Regions from separate parts of the Homo sapiens genome. Here regions 1, 2, 3, 4, 5 and 7 are each linked to region 6. Evidence: promoter capture Hi-C in 16 types of primary human blood cells and fetal thymus (Javierre and others, 2016). All regions are on one chromosome and are shown on one strand. The core of a region is centred on a gene start or on the middle of the fragment in contact, and the rest is flanking DNA. Distances in the headings are between cores, read along the strand shown.

Evidence for each region. Contacts are between HindIII fragments. The CHiCAGO score rates a contact against its expected background, and 5 or more counts as called.
Region 1: a contact is called between a fragment that was not itself captured here and the fragment with the promoter of ITGA6-AS1 in region 6, in 7 of 17 cell types (naive CD8 T cells, fetal thymus, activated CD4 T cells and 4 more). The highest score is 8.0, in naive CD8 T cells.
Region 2: a contact is called between a fragment that was not itself captured here and the fragment with the promoter of ITGA6-AS1 in region 6, in 1 of 17 cell types (naive CD4 T cells). The highest score is 5.0, in naive CD4 T cells.
Region 3: the fragment with the promoter of METAP1D here is called in contact with the fragment with the promoter of ITGA6-AS1 in region 6 in 1 of 17 cell types (activated CD4 T cells); the score reaches 5.2 in activated CD4 T cells.
Region 4: a fragment that was not itself captured here is called in contact with the fragment with the promoter of ITGA6-AS1 in region 6 in 5 of 17 cell types (naive CD4 T cells, total B cells, total CD4 T cells and 2 more); the score reaches 7.9 in naive CD4 T cells.
Region 5: a contact is called between a fragment that was not itself captured here and the fragment with the promoter of ITGA6-AS1 in region 6, in 2 of 17 cell types (total CD4 T cells and naive CD4 T cells). The highest score is 5.5, in total CD4 T cells.
Region 7: a fragment that was not itself captured here is called in contact with the fragment with the promoter of ITGA6-AS1 in region 6 in 4 of 17 cell types (total CD4 T cells, naive CD4 T cells, naive CD8 T cells and 1 more); the score reaches 7.1 in total CD4 T cells.

Annotation. Positions count from the first base shown.
Region 1 is chr2:172,110,531-172,113,570 of GRCh38, forward strand. No RefSeq gene overlaps it. Among named protein-coding and RNA genes, the nearest start is that of DLX2-DT, 9.0 kb to the left of the region's middle. The HindIII fragment of the contact is 7,472 bases long and covers 1-3,040 here.
Region 2 is chr2:171,981,055-171,984,013 of GRCh38, forward strand. HAT1 (histone acetyltransferase 1) reads left to right here. Exons shown (of 11, transcript NM_003642.4): 11 at 2,131-2,632. The coding sequence ends at 2,298. The region is part of intron 2 of LOC124905590 (a long non-coding RNA gene); the gene reads right to left. Among named protein-coding and RNA genes, the nearest start is that of METAP1D, 17 kb to the right of the region's middle. The HindIII fragment of the contact is 702 bases long and covers 1,268-1,969 here.
Region 3 is chr2:171,998,356-172,001,340 of GRCh38, forward strand. METAP1D (methionyl aminopeptidase type 1D, mitochondrial) reads left to right here and starts at 1,598. Exons shown (of 10, transcript NM_199227.3): 1 at 1,598-1,654. The coding sequence starts at 1,615. LOC124905590 (a long non-coding RNA gene) reads right to left here and starts at 1,554. Exons shown (of 3, transcript XR_007087296.1): 1 at 1,324-1,554. RefSeq lists a silencer at 1,293-1,592. The HindIII fragment of the contact is 8,153 bases long and covers 1-2,985 here.
Region 4 is chr2:172,069,759-172,072,727 of GRCh38, forward strand. It overlaps METAP1D (methionyl aminopeptidase type 1D, mitochondrial), which reads left to right. Exons shown (of 10, transcript NM_199227.3): 6 at 1,149-1,312. Among named protein-coding and RNA genes, the nearest start is that of DLX1, 14 kb to the right of the region's middle. RefSeq lists an enhancer at 2,033-2,969. The HindIII fragment of the contact is 1,811 bases long and covers 469-2,279 here.
Region 5 is chr2:171,959,571-171,962,344 of GRCh38, forward strand. All of the region lies in intron 4 of HAT1 (histone acetyltransferase 1), which reads left to right. Among named protein-coding and RNA genes, the nearest start is that of HAT1, 38 kb to the left of the region's middle. The HindIII fragment of the contact is 1,930 bases long and covers 326-2,255 here.
Region 6 is chr2:172,464,449-172,467,291 of GRCh38, forward strand. ITGA6-AS1 (ITGA6 and PDK1 antisense RNA 1) reads right to left here and starts at 1,574. Exons shown (of 2, transcript NR_157573.1): 1 at 1,376-1,574; 2 at 1-126. ITGA6 (integrin subunit alpha 6) reads left to right here. Exons shown (of 26, transcript NM_000210.4): 2 at 1,091-1,215. PDK1-AS1 (PDK1 and ITGA6 antisense RNA 1) reads right to left here. Exons shown (of 4, transcript NR_199657.1): 4 at 1-126. RefSeq lists an enhancer at 1,815-1,984. The HindIII fragment of the contact is 13,641 bases long and covers 1-2,843 here.
Region 7 is chr2:172,086,000-172,088,718 of GRCh38, forward strand. It overlaps DLX1 (distal-less homeobox 1), which reads left to right. Exons shown (of 3, transcript NM_178120.5): 2 at 655-854; 3 at 2,004-2,719. The coding sequence ends at 2,258. Among named protein-coding and RNA genes, the nearest start is that of DLX1, 1.9 kb to the left of the region's middle. RefSeq lists enhancers at 1-379, 994-1,605, 2,219-2,719. The HindIII fragment of the contact is 3,945 bases long and covers 1-2,719 here.

The sequences.
Region 1 (3,040 bases), core at 329-2,828, 350 kb before region 6:
CATAAAACCCTGTGCATGTTTCAAATGTGTAAACACGTAAGCATTTTTATTTGTATTTCTATTTCTTTTATTTATTTATTTATTTATTTATTTATTTATTTTCTTTTGAGACGGAGTTTCCCTCTTGTTGCCCAGGCTGGAGTGCAGTGGTGCATCTTGGCTCACTGCGACCTCTGCCTTCCAGGTTCAAGTGATTCCCCTGCCTCAGCCTCCCGAGTAGCTGGAATTGCAGGCGCGTGCCACCATGCCCAGCTAATTTTTGTAGTTTTAGTAGAGATAGGGTTTCACCACGTTGGCCAGGCTGGTCTCCAACTCCTGACCTCAAGTGATCCGCCCGCCTCGGCCTCCCAAAGTGCTGGGATTATAGGTGTGAGCCACTGCGACTGGCTAGCATTTTTATTTTTTAGAAATCTTGGCCGGGCGCGGTGGCTCACGCCTGTAATCCCAGCACTTTGGGAGGCCGAGGCGGGCGGATCACGAGGTCAGGAGATCGAGACCATCCTGGCTAACACGGTGAAACCCCGTCTCTACTAAAAATACAAAAAATTAGCCGGGCGAGGTGGCGGGCGCCTGTAGTCCCAGCTACTCGGGAGGCTGAGGCAGGAGAATGGCGTGAACCCCAGGGGGCGGAGCCTGCAGTGAGCCGAGATTGCGCCACTGCACTCCAGCCTGGGCGACAGCGAGACTCCGTCTCAAAAAAAAAAAAAAAAGAAATCTTTTCTTTCTATGTCAGTCGTTACAGAGCAATCATTTTCTTCTTAAGGTGAATGTGTGAGGAAGGTATCATCATTTATTTGACTATCTTCTTTGCCTTGTCATCTAGATGATTTCCGATATTTACAAACAACACATGAGTGAATGTCTTCTGGAGAGCTTTGCCCACATGTTCAATTATATTTGTAAACTAGAATCCTAGTAACTGAATTGTATGTCAACATTTTAATAGCTACCACTAAGCTCCCCTTAAAAAACAAGCAATTTAAGCTCTATACTCATTTCTGAGCACTCTCACCAAGAATATTAGGAATCTTCAGTGTTTTTTGAATATGATAGGCTTAAAATAGTGCCATATTTTAACTTGCAAAGGCTTTACATTAGTAGAGTGTGTGTCTTTTTTATTTTATTTTATTTTAGAGAGGGATGCTCTGCTATATTTTGTCCAGGCTGATCTTGAACTCCTGGGCTCAAGTGATCCTCCTGCCTCAGCCTCCAGAGTAGTTGGGACTACAGGCATGTGCCATCGCATGCTTGGCTTGTGTTTTTATATAGGCATTTTATTTTCTTCTGTGAATTGCCTATTTTTGTTCTCTGCCCATTTTTCTGTTTTTAAAAAATTGATTTACAGGAAATTATTACATATTTTGGAGATTAACTCATTATTGTGTTTATAGTCAATATTAATTCCAAGTTAATTGCTTCTCTTTTACTTTTGTTTATTCTCTTTTCTAGTTCAGAGATTTTAAGTTTTGTATGGTCAAATATGTGACTCTTTTTTTTTTATGGCTTCTGGGCCTTCAGGTCATGATTATAGATGCCAATACTTTTTTTTTTTTTTGAGACGGAGTCTCGCTCTGTCACCCAGGCTGGAGTGCAGTGGCGCGATCTCGGTTCACTGCAACCTCCGCCTCCTGGGTTCATGCCATTCTCCTGCCTCAGCCTCCCAAGTAGCTGGGACTACACGTGCCCGCCATCACACCCGGCTAATTTTTTGTATTTTTAGTAGAGACAGGGTTTTACCATGTTAGCCAGGATGGTCTCAATCTCCTGACCTCGTGATCTGCCCGCCTCGGCCTCCCAAAGTGCTGGGATTACAGGCGTGAGCCACCGCGCCCGGCCTATAGATGCCAATACTTTTAGATGTTAATACTTTTAGAGTTAATATATACAGTGGTTAAAAGTATGGGCTCTGGGCTTAAATCCTAACTTGGCTACTTGCTAACTGTGTAAATTAGGGAAAGTTATTTAACTTTTCTGTGCCTCTGTTTAATGTTTAATTGAACAAAACTTCACTTAGACTACTGAAGGATAGTTGTGGAATGGACCAAGTGTTGTCTCTCAAATCTGATTTTTGGGGAATGCAGCTAAACTACTCCCTAGCCCCCTTTGCACTTATGTGTAACCATGTCATTCAATCCAAGAGAATGGAACATAAGTGGAAGCCATGTGTGCCTCTCCCAGGACAGGACCTTTTAGGCAGAGTTGAGACTCCTCTCTGCTCTCTTTTTCCTTCCGCTGTCTGGAACCAGCTTCAACTATGAAGATGACATGGCCCTAGAGTCTCCTAGAGGCCCTAGGGGACTCACCGCCTAGGGGAATCTTCATCACTTGTTTGGAAGGTTATCTGACCAAGAAATAAACTTACATTTTAAGATACTGACTTTTGGGATTATATATATACACACACACATATATATACACACATATATATATGTACACACACATATATATATCTATACACAAACATATATATATGGCAGCTTATCTACTATAGCTAATACCATGACCTTGAAGTTAGGATGCAATGACTTTGTTAGGAAAAAATTACAGGAAAAAGTCCAGAACATCCTTTATCTGTGAAAACCAGATGAATGGGAAGCCAAGCACAGACCTGAAACCATTTGATTCCTAGGTGCATTCAGTCCATGAATAGAAAGAGGTTAGCATAGCTGGTTGTTATCCTTAGGAACATAAGTCTTTAATGATCATTAGTGGGGTTCTTTCACTTCTAAGCCCAAATCATATGCGTTTCCTTTTAAAGGTGATGGATTGCAGAAATTTTGTCACTGTGCCACATGGGACCCTCCCCTCCATGTCAGTGTCACTCTTGCCTTGGGCACATGCTTATTATGCTTAGGAGTTGTCATGGGGTGATAAGCCAACTTACTACTTTAGTCTTTTTTGGACGACAGTGCCTAGGATAATGGAATGAACAAGGCAAAGGCAGCACAAAGAGAAGAGGTGCTAATAATGAAATAACTTCAAATAGGAAAAAGAAAATTAAAAAAAAAAGGAAACTTCCCACTAAAAGGGCCCAAATGGC
Region 2 (2,959 bases), core at 369-2,868, 480 kb before region 6:
AGCTTCTCCGGAGGCTGAGGCAGGAGAATTGCTTGAACCTGGGAGGCAGAGGTTGCAGTGAGCCAAGATTGCGCCATTGTACTCCAGCCTGGGTGACGAGCAAAATTCCATCTCAAAAAAGAAGAAAATTTGTCATCTAGTTGCAGCTGAGTAGTGGGATGATTGGCAGAATATTTAATTTATTCAACATATAATTATTGAGTACAGTTGCTCAATGATAAAATGTTGTTGCTGCATTTATATATACTATACCTATAGGGTTATACATCACAATAGCTGGGAACATAAGTGACCAAGTTGATTCTACATTACAATTTGAGAAAGTAAATTAACTAACTGTATCAGGTACACATAGTTTTGGTTTTCCTTTGTAAATTTAAAGAAAATTTAAGTTTTATTTGCCATGGATTCTGCTTTATAGAGCCAGTCTTGAATGCTGATGGTTCATTGGCTGACACTACTTGCTGAATCCCAACTTTTCCTTCATAGCATCTTTTTACTTTGCAGTGCAACTGTATTTCCTAATTTGTCATTGTAATTCTGTTCACATTCTGAATATAAAATTATTATTTGCCTATGACTAAATCATTTTATCTTGAATTCATACACAGATGTATGAATAGTTCCTCATAGTGTCATTTCATTGCAGTTTAATAGTTTTTCTATTTTACAGACCATCATCTGCATATAGCAGGTTTGTAATAAATTATAATGGTCTCCTCAAAAGTTATCCAAAGTAGCATTTTATTATTTGATGTTATCAATTCAGAAACATCAGAAAATGGGTAAAAATGGTATTTTCCAAAGGTTTTGACCTTTAAGTAATATTTGTTAGCTAGAAAATGTCTTAATGATGAAATTTGGGCACAGAGAGCAGTATAGATGGCAACATTTAAGAGTTATTAAGATTTTACTAAAGTAAAATAATTTATTGAATTATATATTTTAGATATTAATGTGACTTTTATATAAAATATAACAAATGAAAGATGGAAATTCTGAGTACAAATAGTAGTCACACAGCTAATGCCAAATAATGGGAACCTCTGTAGTTCATAAGTGCAAGTATTTTCTACTCTTAAAGAATGATAATTCTTTTTTATATTATTATTAAGTACCTTTACCTGTCCAGCCAGTTCACCAGTCTAAAAGGCCAGAACTGGGCCGGGTGTGGTGGCTCATGGCTGTAATCCCAGCAGTTTGGGAGGCCAAGGTGGGTGGATCACTTGGGCCCAGGAGTTCTAGAACAGTATATCCGAAACATGAAAGCTTCATATTTGCAATAATGCCACCCAACCAGGAATCCTGGAGTTATTCTTCATTCTTCCTTCCTCATATCACCCAGTATTTTCTCCCCTAAATCTGCCCTGTCCTCTCCATCTCTGCTGCTGCTGACTTGATCTAGGCTTTCATCAACTCTGGCTTGAACTACTGCAGTAGCTGCCCAGTCCTCCAGTCCCATCCTAAACATCTCTGACACAGTGTCCTGCATAAAAGTTGTTATCAGCTACCTGTTGCAAACTCCTTAGCATAGCGGTATCCTAAGTCAAACCAGGAGGGTTTAGTATGATAATGTATGTCTGGAACTTAATAAAGACTCAAATGCTATTTAATATATTTTTAAAGTATAGCAGTTTTCCATTTGTCTTTCTGAAACATTTCTAACAGTTTATGTTAAAATTAGCATGTGGCCCGTAAGTACTTCACTGGGTGGAATTTAAAATGTAATTAATTAATGACTGAATAGTAAAATGAAGAATAATAGCACTTAATCTCAGTTGTCTTTCTTCAGCTAATGTCTTCTATCTATTAAGCAAATATTTGAGTGTCTATACTGCCCAGAGTTCTTTAAAGTTTTGGAGGGGGCTGCTAGTCACATGTCTGTATTTACCATCATTGGACACAAATACCAGGTCTTCTTGTTAACTCTTTTTAGAGGGTTTGCAATTCATGGTTAACATTATGTTTAAGCTTCCTTAAAAAACAAAACAAAACAAAAAAAAAACATTGTGGGACAAGTTTGGGCGTATTCATACTATTCTTATTTTTAACATTGGAGACTTAAAATTGTAAGACTATAAGGAAATATATTTACTTTCTTCGTCTAACAAATAATTGTTTGTCACTTAGAAAAAGCAGAGAGATCTTGCTAAGATGAGAAAATGTCTCAGACCAGAAGAACTGACAAACCAGATGAACCAAATAGAAATAAGCATGCAACATGAACAGCTGGAAGAGAGTTTTCAGGAACTAGTGGAAGATTACCGGCGTGTTATTGAACGACTTGCTCAAGAGTAAAGATTATACTGCTCTGTACAGGAAGCTTGCAAATTTTCTGTACAATGTGCTGTGAAAAATCTGATGACTTTAATTTTAAAATCTTGTGACATTTTGCTTATACTAAAAGTTATCTATCTTTAGTTGAATATTTTCTTTTGGAGAGATTGTATATTTTAAAATACTGTTTAGAGTTTATGAGCATATATTGCATTTAAAGAAAGATAAAGCTTCTGAAATACTACTGCAATTGCTTCCCTTCTTAAACAGTATAATAAATGCTTAGTTGTGATATGTTAATGTGTGATGATATGATTCTTAAATACTTACAATAAACCTCATTCTTAAATACTTATCATTCCTTCCACACTTTGCTTCTAAGATTTTACATCTGACACCTTTAAAACATTTCTTTAAGGTTATCCTGGTAATTTTATTTTTTCAATATGATTTTTCTTTCTTTTTTAACTTTTAGATTCAGGGGTACATGTGGAGGTTTGTTACATAGGTAAACTAGTGTCTTGGGGGTTTCTTGTACAGATTATTTCAACACCCAGATACTAGGCCTAGTATCCAATAGTTAATTTTTCTGCTATTCTCCCAACCTCCACCTTCAAGTAGGCCCCAGTATCTGTTGTTCCCTTCTTTGTGTCCATGTGTTCTCATCATTTACTCCCACTTG
Region 3 (2,985 bases), core at 348-2,847, 470 kb before region 6:
CTTTTTTCTGTACACTGCTTAAGACTCTGTGGCCAGCTAACTCTCAGGCTCCTTTGCTGCACTCAGATTGCTGGCCTCAGTTACACAGAGGACAGATTTGCCACATTCAAAAATGCTCTCCCTGGAATTGAAATGAGTTTGCAAAAGGTAGGAGTACATTTTATTCTCATTCTTGTGCATCTTATTTACCCTGATGGAAAGCATTACTTCTCTTTATCTTTCAAGGTGACCCAAAAGCATCCAAAACCAGGTTTTCCAGAATTATAGCATGTGTCCTCTAATGAAATGCCAACATTCACTCTCTTTAAAAGTAAAAATATCAAGATTATATAGTCATTAAAAAGAATAAGTCTGAACTAAGTGTTCTAAGATTTGATGCCTATGATGACTGGAATGGAAAAAGCAAGTCATATGATTCTATTTAAAATACTTACATTTGCCTGTGTGTAAAAGGCAAAGATCTCAATTGAGCACACGGTGGTTAACTGGGGAGTGGGACTATGGTATGTACAGAGGGCGAGGAAGGGGCTTGCACTTGTTCCTTATTTCTGAATTGTTCTGAATTGTCTAGATTATTCACTGAGTGTGTAGTGCTTAAAAATTAATTAGAAGACATCACACACATTCACTGAGAATCCTAATCAATCTTCACTGCATTTAAAGTCTGGAAACGGTTACATTCTCAGTTTGACTGGTTTCATGCAGTGTTCAATTGCTTCACCTGACATTCCTCGGGTATCGGGTTCTGTGCCGGGCACGGAGGCTACTAAGATGAATAACACCTGGTCCATGACAGGATGGCATCTACCCCAGAACACAGGTAAGAGAGACAGTGAATTTGGTAAAAATGGGCACCGTCATCAGTAGGCATACATCAGCTCCCTCATCTGATTCACAATTGGCCTTCTGTAGGCTTCTTCTCTTGGCAATGCAATTGGCAGGCGTCATCCTTTTATACTTAAACTCCAAATTTAGGATTAAGACTCCAGTTAATACTGCCAAGCAGAAGGCGTCCTTGGAGAAAGAGAAGTCTCCTGAACATACCCACTGGGGTACCTAGAATAGATTTTGCAGCGACACACAGATCCTGTGTTGTCTGGAGTCTCTGCTGAGTAATGTAGATTCTGGGACAGCAAAAGGGGAGCTGGTGACTTTGAACCAAATTTTACCTTTCAACTGAATCCAGGGGAATAATTTGCAACAGAGTGGCAGACGATACAAAGTGCTATGTTGAACACTAGATTGTGCTTTATTTTTTCCGCCCAACTTCACGTTTCCATGCACCAAAATGTTGATGCTATAAATATTGGATGCCACGCTTACCTGACAGGCTTCTTCCATCCCACCTGGGCGCGGGGGCTCAGAGCGAGCGCGCGAGCCGCGGCTGGAGCCCGCCTCTCGCGGCTGGAGAGGACTCAGCCGGCCGCGGGTTCTGCTGCTTGCCCGGGTGCCCTAGCCGCTTCCCAGCCAGGGCTCCCGCAGTCAGCCCCGCGCGCGCACGCGCGCTCCCCTCGGGCGGCCTCGACGCCTCAGGGCTTCGGCAGGGCTGCGACTGGCCGGCTCCAGCGGGCGGGGCGGCGAGCGAGTGCTCGCGGCCACGTGACCGACGCCAACATGGCGGCGCCCAGTGGCGTCCACCTGCTCGTCCGCAGAGGTAAGCGCGTGGAGGAGAGCCCCGTGAGGGTTCGCACGGTTGCTCACTAGGTACGCACCCGGGTCCAAAGGGATGCGCACCCGCGCTCAGACTTCTCGGCGCACACGACTGTACTTTCAGTGTTTACGAACACACGCAGGCACACACGATGACACATTCACACACCACAGGATCACACATACAAATTTGTTCACTGATCACCCGCCTAGAACACGTCACCACGTGGCATCTTTTCGCAATTACTCCTTGAGATTTGCGGGCCATTGTCTGAAGTTTTTTTCCCCAACTTCGGTTGTATCATTAGTGTAACCAACATTTATTCTGTATGCCGAGCAAGGAAACCTATGGTAATTCTGAAATGCATCTGGACACCCGGTTCCCTTCCCTAGAGCTTTTATGCAGGCATGCTTTTTGGGGACTTGCAAAATGTGATGGTTTTCTTCCAGTGACTTAAAGTTAAGAAGATAAGAAAGGATGTCTGGGTAGTTCTAAGTAGGTTTTATCCTGCGTGAGTGTTGAGATTTTAGTAAATATACAAATGCCTTTGCAGCAGAATTGGGGAAATCTTTGTTGGATTTGAACTAGGTGCTGAATCTTTGTTGGAAAGAACTAGAAAGTTTTTCCAAGGACGGGGGAAGAGGAAAACTATCATATTTTGAGGAGCTACTTAAGCGTCAGGCATGTAGGAACAGTTTTGTGAGGTAAATATTATTTTCATAGTAACAGCTACTGTTTATTAAGTGCCTTTTAAGTACACGATACTGTGTTAAGCGCCTTACATATGCTTGCTTCCTTTTAAAACTCAATGAATGAGACCCCGTCTCTACAAAAAATTTTAAAAATTAGTCGGGCGTGGTGACACATGCCTGTAGTCTCAGCTATTCTGGGGGTTGAGGTGGTAGGATCGCTTGAGCCTGGGAGGTCAAGAGGCTGCAGTGAGCCGTGATCGTACCACTGAACTCCAGACTTGGCAATAGAGCCAGACCCTGTCTCAAAAACAAAAACAAAAACCCAGTGAGTTAGGAATTATTTTCTCTTTGCAGAAGGGAAAAGTAAGGCTAGAGAGGTTAAGTAACATTACTAAGGTCGCATAAATGGTAAGAGGCAGATTGCTCATTTGAACATGACTCTAATTTTTTTTTTTAAGACTCATTTCTCGGTACTGCATGACGTGGTCACTCCATAGAAGTCAGTGTGTAAAGTTCAGCAGAGACAGTGCAGGATGAGTGTGTACAAAAAGTGAAGAGAGCCTGGGCACGGTGGCTCACACCTGTAAACCCAGCACTTTGGGAGGCCGAGGCAGGTGGCTCACTTGAGGTCAGAAGTTCAAG
Region 4 (2,969 bases), core at 124-2,623, 390 kb before region 6:
ACCTGAATCTACCTCTATATTCTGCCACCAACCTTAAACAAGTTACTTATCTGTGCCTCAGTTTCCTGAATTATAAACTGAAGATCTAATAAAGACCTTTCTTGCTTCCTTCACAGAATATGAGAGCATTTTTTAAGAAATGCAGAGTAGTATACAGATTTAAGACATTAATTCAGTATCACAACAGACTGAAAGCTCATATAAACATCTTTTTTATAACAGTTTCTACATTCTACCTTATGAGCAAGAGAAATGTGAAAAATAATTAGATAGGACAAATTTATGCAAAGTAGCAAATTCCATGCTACATCAAAGGATCAGTATCCAAACAGTTGCCTCTGCCTTTTATATTTACTATAGTGCTTGGTTATCAATGATTTATAATGAATCTGGTATCTTTCAAGATCCTACTTGGCTTCTGAATCACTGAAGACTGATAAAATTATACTTTCTGTAATTGTGCTTTTAAGCTTGTTTTATTATATTCTAATTCTTTAGATATCCATATATAGTGCTTTCTGTTAACGTTCGGCTGTCTGGAACATTTGATTAAGATTTCACTTCTAGACATAGGATTTTTCTGTAACACATTTCATTCCTATATGGAACCACTTCAATTCTTAGAACTGAATTCTCCTATTTGTTTGTTAGAATACAGACATGTCTATCTTACTTCTTCTTGTCATTATATATCACTTCAAATGTAGAACTGGTAAATACAAAATCAAGTAAGTCTTCATGACATTGAAGAAACTTTTCACTATGTTAAATACTTTTTGGTTCTCTAAACCTGTTGTGGTAATTGTAGATCAAGGTCTTTGGCTACTAATTTTTGCTTATATAATTTTGTCTTCTCAGAAATAAAGTGAGGAATCAAAATATTACAGTAGTATTGTTCATCATAATGCTGAAATAACCATACTAGTTAACATAGTTGTTTTTAAATTTTGCAATATCATTGCATGGCTTCATCTTTTAAATTTCTGCAAGGTTTCAATATATCTATTTCTTCTTTTTTTGATAGGCAAATGAATAATTCTGGAAGGGTAAAACATGAGTCTACTAAATACATAAATGAATACAATGTATACTTTAGGAAAGTAGATTTTTAAACAAGGACATATTTTTAAATTTCTGCTTATGTTTAGGTCTATTACAATGGCTACCATGGAGACACCTCTGAAACATTTTTGGTGGGCAATGTGGACGAATGTGGTAAAAAGTTAGTGGAGGTTGCCAGGAGGTGTAGAGATGAAGCAATTGCAGCTTGCAGAGCAGGGGCTCCCTTCTCTGTAATTGGAAACACAATCAGGTAAGCCTTACATTGACAAGTAAAGGGAGGGTTGGCAAATGGTACAAAGGTTATTGGTGGCTTGGTATAAAGTTGATGACATGTTTTATGATTCAGAACCATCATTTCAGTCTGATATCAGTATGTGAACTGCCAGGCTGCAATATTGTTCCCTGAGTTGAAAAAAAAAAAAGATTTTATAAAAATGAATTATACCAGGGTCAGCAAAGAAACTTATAGAAGGAGCAAGCAATATTTACATGGCTGCTTTTGTTTTAGCTTGACATACTGGTCTATAGTTTCCCTTTATTCAAAATCACACCAAATATGGAAGGGAGTACCTAAGAAGGGGATGAGCATCTCAACCCTGGGGTTTTTAATAAGACAGGAGAAAAACTAAATTTTATAAAGGAATGAAGTGAAATGTATTTCTGTGATATGAAGATAATAAAGTGTTAGTTCAAGCAAGCCTTACCTTTCAAATTGGTAGATTAACAAATAGCCTGAAACGGTGATCTTCTGTTCTTTTTTTGTCTGGTTCATTTTTCCTGTAAACCGTTGTTTATTTTTCACAGAGTATTCTATCCTTACTTTTTGAATGTATGTGTATGTGTGTTTTCTGAATTTAAGACTTTTCTTTATAATCTGTTACCTACTTTTAGGTCTTTTTTCCCCCATAACTGTTTTGAAGTAGACATGCCGAATATATGTTTTCATTTTAAAGTAATGCATTCTGTTAAAGATGATCACATCAGTGCCCTTTAAAGTACTGTTCTCATTAATATGAACCATTGAATACTTCCCATTTGTCTAAAGGATGGAAGGCTTAGTCACCTTGAAAAGATGCTGCCTTTTTTTCTTCGTAAGCCTTCAAATACTTTAAGAAAAAAGCCAGTAAAATATCAGTTAAATGTATTTATGGCTTTAAAAATATTGTAACAGTGTCTGAATCAAACTTTAGTAAAATCTCTTTGGGTTATATCTGAGAAGCTTTTATTGAAGACTTTGAACAAAATTGTGTTTTTGACAGTTTTAAATTATAGGCTAACTAGCCTGGGAAAAAAGGATAGTGTCTCTCTGTTCTTTCATAGGAAATGTTGAATCAGACCCCTACTGGGAAAAGAAATTTAATGCATATCTCACTATCTTACTGTCCATGAATATAATAGAAATGAATTCAAAATGCAGTTTTATTTTTGCAAATGGGATGAGTCGATAGATGCACCTCATATTTTTGAACACCTAGGGTTCAACAAATTTACTGGTGGTGCTCTTGCATTTTAACAAAATTTATTCTTCAGTAGAAGGGGGCAGAGAACACTAGATTCTTATTCAAGCATTCTATCGAGCTCTGCATTCATGGCTGTGTCTAAAGGGCATGTCAGCCTTTGATTCTCTCTGAGAGGTAATTATCCTTTTCCTGTCACGGAACAACAAATGATAGCTAACTACAGAGGCACATTTGCAGTAGTCACATTCATCAACTGCAGAAAAAAAAATTCAATTTAATTGTGCAACACAGCTGCACATGGGCTTTTGAGCATTTCTGTTGTTCTCCCTGTCTCGCTATTCCTCCCTCCAGATCTATTTTTTAAACTTTTTTTCTGGTTATTTTTTCCCCTTTTTGTCTCTTCTTCCATTTTTACTCTCTGTACTTTCTTGTTAAAGTAATTTTCCT
Region 5 (2,774 bases), core at 41-2,540, 510 kb before region 6:
GTGGTCAAAGATCATTTATATTGCGTATTCAAACAAAGACTTTTTTCCCCTTATTAAAAACGATTGGGTAGGGGATATGTGGGTCATGGGCTTGCTTCTTCTATCTCAGTTTGCAGTGAGTGTTCATTCCATAGTGCCTTCTGTGTTGTTGATGCCAGCGATACAGTGGCAGACAAAGTCATGGAGCTTACATTCTAGCCAAGAGGAACAGTCAGTAAACAAAATAGTAAATACACAAATTAAATTCAGGCAGTATTATGAAGATACATTTTGCTCATTTCTGAATGATAAAGGAGGAACCAGCCATGTTATAATCTGAGGGTAAAGCTTACTAAGATACAAAGGCTCTAAAAATACAGCATTTTTGGCATTTTTGTAGTCCAGAAAGATTACCAGGGTTAAATCATTGTGGTGATGGAGAGAGGGGTAGGAGATGGTTGAAGGGGATGCAAAGCTAGATCATCATATAGGATCTTGTGTTCTGTGATAGGTGTTTGCAAGAAATAAGAGTAGTTGGCATTCTTTAGAGGCATTCTTAAGTAGGTGGAGGTCATAAACAATGTGATTTATATTTTTAAAATATGATTCTGGCTGCTGTGCAGAGAACACACTGTATAGGGCAAAAGTGAAAGAAGAGACCGGAACATTGCAGTGTTAGAGGTGACACTGGACTTAGTTGTCAGAGTAAGGAACATTTTGGAGGTCTGCTGTTGAATTAGATGTGACAGATGAAGAAAAAAAACGAGAACCCCATTGCCCAAGTTCAATTATGGTACTGTTAACTGGGAAAACTATAGAAGAAATAGGTTTAAGTGGAAACAATAAAAAAATTTTATTTTGGATGTTAGGTTTGAGTCTAATATATTAGGGCTTTGCAGATCATACTGCATAGATGGTCAGCAGCCATAACATCTGCTTAGAAGTTATTTCTTATTAGGATTATGTCATTACATTAATTTTTAATCATCCATTCTTTTACTTTTCCAAGCTGAATGCTCTAGTTGCACCTAAAATTCTTCAGTCACAATTAAGATGCCTATAAAATCTCTACTAGCCACCATCTTTAAAGGAAACATAATTCTGAATTTTACAATACAATAAACTTGATTATTCAGACACTGATGATTTTTTCATCTGGTTGTCCTTGACCTTTGCTTTTATTAACACCTCCTGCTCTGTGCTTGTAATGCCAGCTACTCTGTAGGCTGACTCAGGAGGATCATTTGAGGCCAGGAATTTGAGACCAGCCTTGGTAACATAATAAGACCCTGCCTATTAAAAAAAAAAAATGCTGAACGTGGTGGCTCAAACCTGTAATCCCAGCGCTTTGGGAGGCCGAGGTGGACAGGTCACTTGAGGTCAGGAGTTTGAGACTAGCCTGGCCAACATGGTGAAACCTCATCTCTACCAAAAGTGCAAAAATTAGCCAGGTGTTGTGGTGCGTGCTTGTGGTCCTAGCTACTCAGGAGGGTGAGGCAGGAGAATCACTTGAACTCGGGAAGTGGAGGTTGCAGGAAGCCGAGTTCGCGCCACTGTACTCCAGCTTGGGTGACAGAGCAAGACTCTGTCTCAAAAAACGAAAACAAAAGCTAGGCATGATGGCATGCTCCTGTAGTCCCAGCTACTTGGAAGGCTGAGACAGAAGGATCTCTTGAGCCCAGGAGGTCAAGGCTGCAGTAAGCTATGGTTACACTACTACATTCCAGCCTAGGTGACAGAGCAAGACTCTTGTCTTAAAAACAAAAACCTCCTGCCTTTTCTTGGGGGTAATTTCATTGCCTTTTAGTGAAGTAGTGGGTAACTAAGATTGTTGTCTTGCTAATTGCTAGCATTTCTGGGAAAAGTTTGGTACAGGAAGTTGAAATAGATGGATAAAGTTTGTATTAACTGTGAATTTCAGTTATTTTATCCTAGTGTCCCACTAATTGGATTGAATTTGAGAGGATATGAGAGCAGATTTTAAAAATTTTATGGAGTGTTTAGCCTCTTTCTAGGAAAATCCTACATACTTCCAGAAATTTCGAAAAAATCTTTGGTAGACTAGTAAAATTTCAAATTGTGATGGTGTTCTTGATAAGTAATACTTTTTATGAAATATCATAAAGAGCTTTAAAAGTATATATTGACAAGTTTATCTTGTTTAGTTCAAGTAGCAAAATACTAATGCAGTGTAAATAAACATAATATGACCTTTGTTTTTCCATTAGTGAAAAAGTTCACACTTTTAATTTCTCAACAATACATTCTGTAGTTAAAGCTTAAATATTATCAGAGAACATGAGATTGAGAACATTAAGTAGATACAGAATTTCTTTTGCTTGTTTTTTTTTTTTTTAGCATATTTTAGGTAGTCTTAGAATTATAGTTAAGTCTATGTACCACTTTAGCCAAGTAAAGAACAACATGTTACCACCTACTTAACGTGCCTTTAATTTCAATCTCAAAAATAACTAGACAAATTTAGACAAATGGTGCTGCTTAAGATAAGATGTTAGAGAGGTTATTGGGTTTTCAAATGTGTATAAATACAAATATAAACATTAAAAAAATAGATTACTAATTATCAGGCATATCGCTTTATTCAATAATGAGGAAATGCAAAAATTGCTCCATATGAACATGTTCATGTGTAATAAAGTACAGAACACTGGAACTTGAAATGACCATAGTTAAATAGTATACAATCTAAAAATATTTCATAATGACCCACCTACCAGAATATCTAACTAGAATACTTTTGCACTTTCCTTTTTAAAAATAAATTACCAAGCGTT
Region 6 (2,843 bases), core at 324-2,823:
AGCTCCAGCCTTGTTTCCAAAACTCTCAGCTCTTGGTTTATCTCTGTCCAGTCAGGTGTGTGTTCTTTGTCTTTGTTTCTTGTCCTAGTTGTTCCATGAGTCAGCCAGGCCTCAAAGATTGTAAACCTGATGGTGAGTAAAGGTGTTAGCAAAAGAGACCTAGCAACAAGGTCATTGGATCTCTAAAGAGCCTGTCAAGCTGTGAGATGGTGAAATTTTAAGGACTGTGGATTTGGACTGGGGGCCTCCTTATAGGAGATAAAAACACTCGGCTGGGGAGAAGAAGGAATATTACAGTGCCTAGTACATAAGTGGAGCTACACCAGTTGTCCCTGAATCCTTTGTGGGAGACTGATAGGATGAGAGAGGACGAACTCTTGTAATGTGACAAAAGTGCAAGGAAGTAAGAACTGACTTGGAAGAACAAACATCAACTTGTACACCTCAAATATATCTGCTTTTTATTTGTCCATTCTACCCTAATAAAACTGGAGGGAAAAAAAAAAAAGAATTGGAAAGAGGCCAAGGCTGCAAGTGAATAATTCAGTCGAGTTGTATCTTACTTACCATTAGGTTCTCTCAATTAGTATATAAACTGAAAATCTAAGATATAGTCAGAATTACCCTTGAAAACTACCTCAGGAAGGCACAGTGTTAGAAACTGACATATTATTGCTTATTACATTTAGTGTGGCCATTTTTTCCTTCCATTGTCACAAGTATTTGGTTTCTTCTCTTGAGTTTCATATGATATCCCTGGCATCATAGGGGCTTAGAGGTTGTATTCTTTGAAGAGGGTGTCTTTTAAACACCAGATCATACCCAGCAAGAAATGCTGATACTATGAGAGACAGGCCTATTTTCCTCGTTTTGGTATCCCCTCTTTGGCTTCCCCTGTTTAGTTGTGTTTGTGCGTTTTGCATGAACCAGCCATAGGACTCTACATTTGTTCTCACTCACTGCCTAAGCTGTTGAAGAATTAGTGGACTCCTAGACAAAGAATAATCCCACTATCTCCTAGTTCTGACTGATTTAACTGTTAAACGTATATTAAATTCAAATCTCCAAATTGTCTCTGTTTCATCAACAGGTTGCTCGTGGGGGCCCCGCGGGCAGAAGCGCTTCCACTGCAGAGAGCCAACAGAACGGGAGGGCTGTACAGCTGCGACATCACCGCCCGGGGGCCATGCACGCGGATCGAGTTTGATAACGATGGTGCGTTCCTTTCCCTCACTCAGCGTTCACTCCGGCAGCTTGCCTGTACTGTTTCCATGAGGGAGGAGAGTGGGGACAAACATTTATTCTTGTAGAGAGGACTTCTTTTAATTGCATCAGACTTGACTGTTTTTTATTTGCCCTGAAAATATTTACTTACTTTACTTCTGAATCATACTGGGATGCCGCGTGTTTTGCTGCTCCTCCTAACCGTGGTTTCTAAACCGATATGGTGTAGGGATGTTGCCACCTAGTGATGTGTTGAGGTTCTGCAGGAGGTTGTGGAAAAACTCATTTCATAGCAATGAAGAGAATGAATGAGCGTATCTTGTATTCATCAGCCAAAAGTTCTCACATGCTGTTAAAATATTTGGGAGAAAGACAGTTTTAAATATCAGACCCCTTTGGAATGAGAGCTGGCTAACAGAGATAAAGTTTTCCCTCCTGTCTCAGATAGAGACTTGTTTTGTTAAGGGCTCTGGATAGGTAGAAGATACCATGAGGTAGGCATGTTGACATCCAGTGTACCTGGCTTCTTGTAGGTTGAGCAGAGCAATTAGTGTACTGAGAAGCTCTAGCCAAACCTCGTTTGATATGTTCGGTCTAAGTAGATTTGCAGATTCGTGTCTATGTTCTTCTCTTGCTTCTTCATCTTTTAGAAATAACATTTGTTGGCCAGGCGTCGGTGGCTCACACCTGTAATCCTAGCATTTTGGGAGGCCGAGTTGGGTGGATCATTTGAGGTCAGGAGTTCAAGACCAGCCTGGCCAACATGGTGAAACCCCATCTCTACTAAAAATACAAAAATTAGCCAGGCGTGGTGGTGTACGCCTGTAGTCCTAGCTACTTAGGAGGCTGAGGCGTGAGAATTGTTTGAACCTGGGAGGCAGAGGCTGCAGTGAGCCAAAATCGTGCCACTACACTCCAGCCTGGGTGACAGAGCAAGATACCATCTCAAGAAAAGAAATAACATGTGTTCTTTTATTAGAAACTAATATGTGTTAATTTTAAGAAGCTGGTAAAATACACAGACCTATGAAGAATAAAAAAACCCACTGGCAATCTCAGTATCTAGACTTATTTTTTAACATTTTGGCATTTTTCCTTCTGTCTAAAGTTGTTTAATGTTTTTGTAATGATTCAAGATTAAAACCTGTGTCTGTATTGCTACTTATGGAGGAGTGCAAAATTTGGATATAGGTCACACAGTGGGTTTAAATTGATACTGAAATGAGCACCTGGTGGTGTTTGTGGTCCCCGTCTCTCTGACTAACAGTAACTCTCCTGTTTGGCATTGATACATTGTCAGCTACAAGATCCTAAAGTAAATCTGAGTCTTTTTCTTCCATCTCCAGTAAAGAAGAGAACATTTAATGCTGTTAAATAAAAAAATTGGGGAGTATATAGAGAAGTACCCATTTTTTTTGTTAGTTTGGATGGTAGCTGCAGTTTGGAATACTAGATTTTACATTGTTGCCTTAAGAGATGTATTTTGGAGGGCTCCCTTAGTCTTACAGTTTCACTTACCTTCTGCATTCAGGACCCTAGGTATCAAGAGAGGGCAAAGGGTATTGTTGGACAAAATAGGCAACTATATAGAGCTAAGTACTTTATGTTTCAAATGTTTG
Region 7 (2,719 bases), core at 204-2,703, 380 kb before region 6:
CTTGCCAGGGAGAGGGAGAGGAGGAGGTACAAGGGAGAGAGGGAAAGAAGGAGCGGGGGAGAAGAGGAGAGGGAGAGAGAGAGAAAGAGAAGAGAGGAGAGCGAGGTGGGGTGGGGGTGGGGAGGGCGCGGGAGCAGTGGAGGTTTCGAATATCAATCTATAGATCCTTGTCACAGCAAATAAATTTTTTTAAAAATTCCCTCAATTTGCAACTATCCAGCCAAGGATAAATCCCAGAGCGTCTCCTGGCACTGGCTGGGCCTCTGGGCGGCTCGGTGTGCAGAGCACACAATGCCCCGCTGGAAAACAGAAACCCACATGTGCACGTATTAGTCTCGGTAATTATTTATTGCGTAGCGCTATAAACAATGTATGCAATTAAGGGTAATTAAACCTCAACTACCGCCTGCAAAAATAGCAAACTTTCCCTGCAAAGGCAGGAGCTGAGCTCCTGGGAACGGCTCTATCCCTCCTGCAGCGTCCCGGGACAGGCCCTCGGATTTTGGGGGACCCTTCCCTGGCTTTCAGAGTTTCTTGAACGTTCTCTCCCTGGTGCTGCCTCCGCCACCCTTCGGTAGCCACTCGCTCTCGGCTGTTCGCACTAAAGGCGGCCCCTCGTATTAACAACGGGCCCTACTTCTGCTGTCCCTCCAGGGGCGGACTCGGAGAAGAGCACGGTGGTGGAAGGCGGTGAAGTGCGCTTCAATGGCAAGGGAAAAAAGATCCGTAAACCCAGGACGATTTATTCCAGTTTGCAGTTGCAGGCTTTGAACCGGAGGTTCCAGCAAACTCAGTACCTAGCTCTGCCGGAGAGGGCGGAGCTCGCGGCCTCTTTGGGACTCACACAGACTCAGGTACCTCGCCGCTGCCGCTCCGTTCTGCCACGCAGGCTTTCCGCGGCCGGCCTGCGCCCGGGTCTTCATTTGTTGCTCGCTGGGACTCAGGGTCGGGGTGTCACTGTGTGTATGTGTTTGTGTCCACCCCTGGCTCTCAGCGTGTCTCCTTCCTCCCTCATTCCCTCTGCCCTAGCTCTGTCACTGCTCTCGGTATCCCGAGCTGCCTGCCGTCCGGCCCTCTGTCCCTGGACAATCTGATTAGGGCGCAGGAAGGATTTCCCCAGACGATTTGTTTGGGAACTCAGAGGTCACACGTGCCTAAACAACTGGAACAATAGACTCCGGGCTTAATCCCTCCTTTGCCTTTAAATTGTGTGACTAATCACTCGGGGCCTGGGTCCGCGCCTCAGCCTCCCTCCTCCTCCTCCTTCTTACCGGTTGGGGGTGGGGGGAGATCCTTTCCTCCGCCCTCTCACCTCTCAAGTCCCAGACCTTAGAGAAGAAACGGGACCTTCCTTCCCGGCTTTCTGTAAGACTCCGGGGAGCCCGTGAGCGTTCCTGACGGCGGCGGGCGCGGGTTTCCGACGTCCGGTCCGGGATTTGGAGCAGAGCTGGAGAAAGCAAACAGACACTAGTGCAAGAATGGTTTTGAATCCAAAGAGAAGTTCAGCAAAACCTTGAGGCCTCCTTAGTCCGTCCCAACTCAAGGGCAGAAAAGATGGCGCATAGAAAAGTTGGGTCGCGTTGCAAATAAATTTCCTCCACTCCTTCCTAGGTTTTCGATTCTTTTTATTGATGTTGATATTGGAATTGCTGGCTCGGTGTTATGCAGGCGCTGTATCTTCCGCAGGCGGTAGCCACGGTCGGACTGAGCCCCTGGCAGGCTAAGGCCTGGATCCCGGTTCTCCCCTCATCACAACTCCTCCCTGGCTCTCTGAGAGCTGCCCCCGTGGGCTGACGGCGGCGGGAGGTTCGGCCTTCGAGCCTTTGGCTCTTATGGGGGAAGGGAGGAAGGAGGGATGTCTCTGCTTCTCTGGCAGGGAGCTGCCAGCTGGCGCAGGGTTGGGAGGTCCTATCTCTGCTGTTCTGCGGTCCCTTTTTTCCTCCCTGTGACCTAGGTAGGCTCAGTGGTCCCAGCCTGAGTCACGTTGTTGTCCGCTCTTGCAGGTCAAGATCTGGTTCCAAAACAAGCGATCCAAGTTCAAGAAGCTGATGAAGCAGGGTGGGGCGGCTCTGGAGGGTAGTGCGTTGGCCAACGGTCGGGCCCTGTCTGCTGGCTCCCCACCCGTGCCGCCCGGCTGGAACCCTAACTCTTCATCCGGGAAGGGCTCAGGAGGAAACGCGGGCTCCTATATCCCCAGCTACACATCGTGGTACCCTTCAGCGCACCAAGAAGCTATGCAGCAACCCCAACTTATGTGAGGTTGCCCGCCCGTCTCCTTCTTGTCTCCCCGGCCCAGGTCCCTCCCGCCTCCAGGTCCATCCATCCCGTCCGGAAAAGAAGGACCCAGAGGGAAGAAGGAACAGTGGAGGCGGGACGCCCTCCATCTCCTCGGAGCCCCGCGAGGTCCGGCCCAGCAACTTCCCGGCATCCGCGCTCTAGCCTGAACCCTGGCCTGGGCCGAGCAGTGGCAGCAGAGAGTGGCCTCGGAGGGAAGCCACTGCCACCTGAGACAGCCCAAGCAGCAAGATAAACCCGCTCCACCCGACCCGCCGACCTTCAGCTTTGTGGGACTATCAGGAAAAAACAAAACAAAAACAAAATGTAGAAAAAGCAAAAGCTCTTTTCTGTCCTGTCAGTCTCCTGTCTCCTTTTGCTCTGTCTGTGCGCTGGTAAAGTCCAGGTCCTCATCCGTCCGCTGTCCTCATTCTGCGGCCTCAGC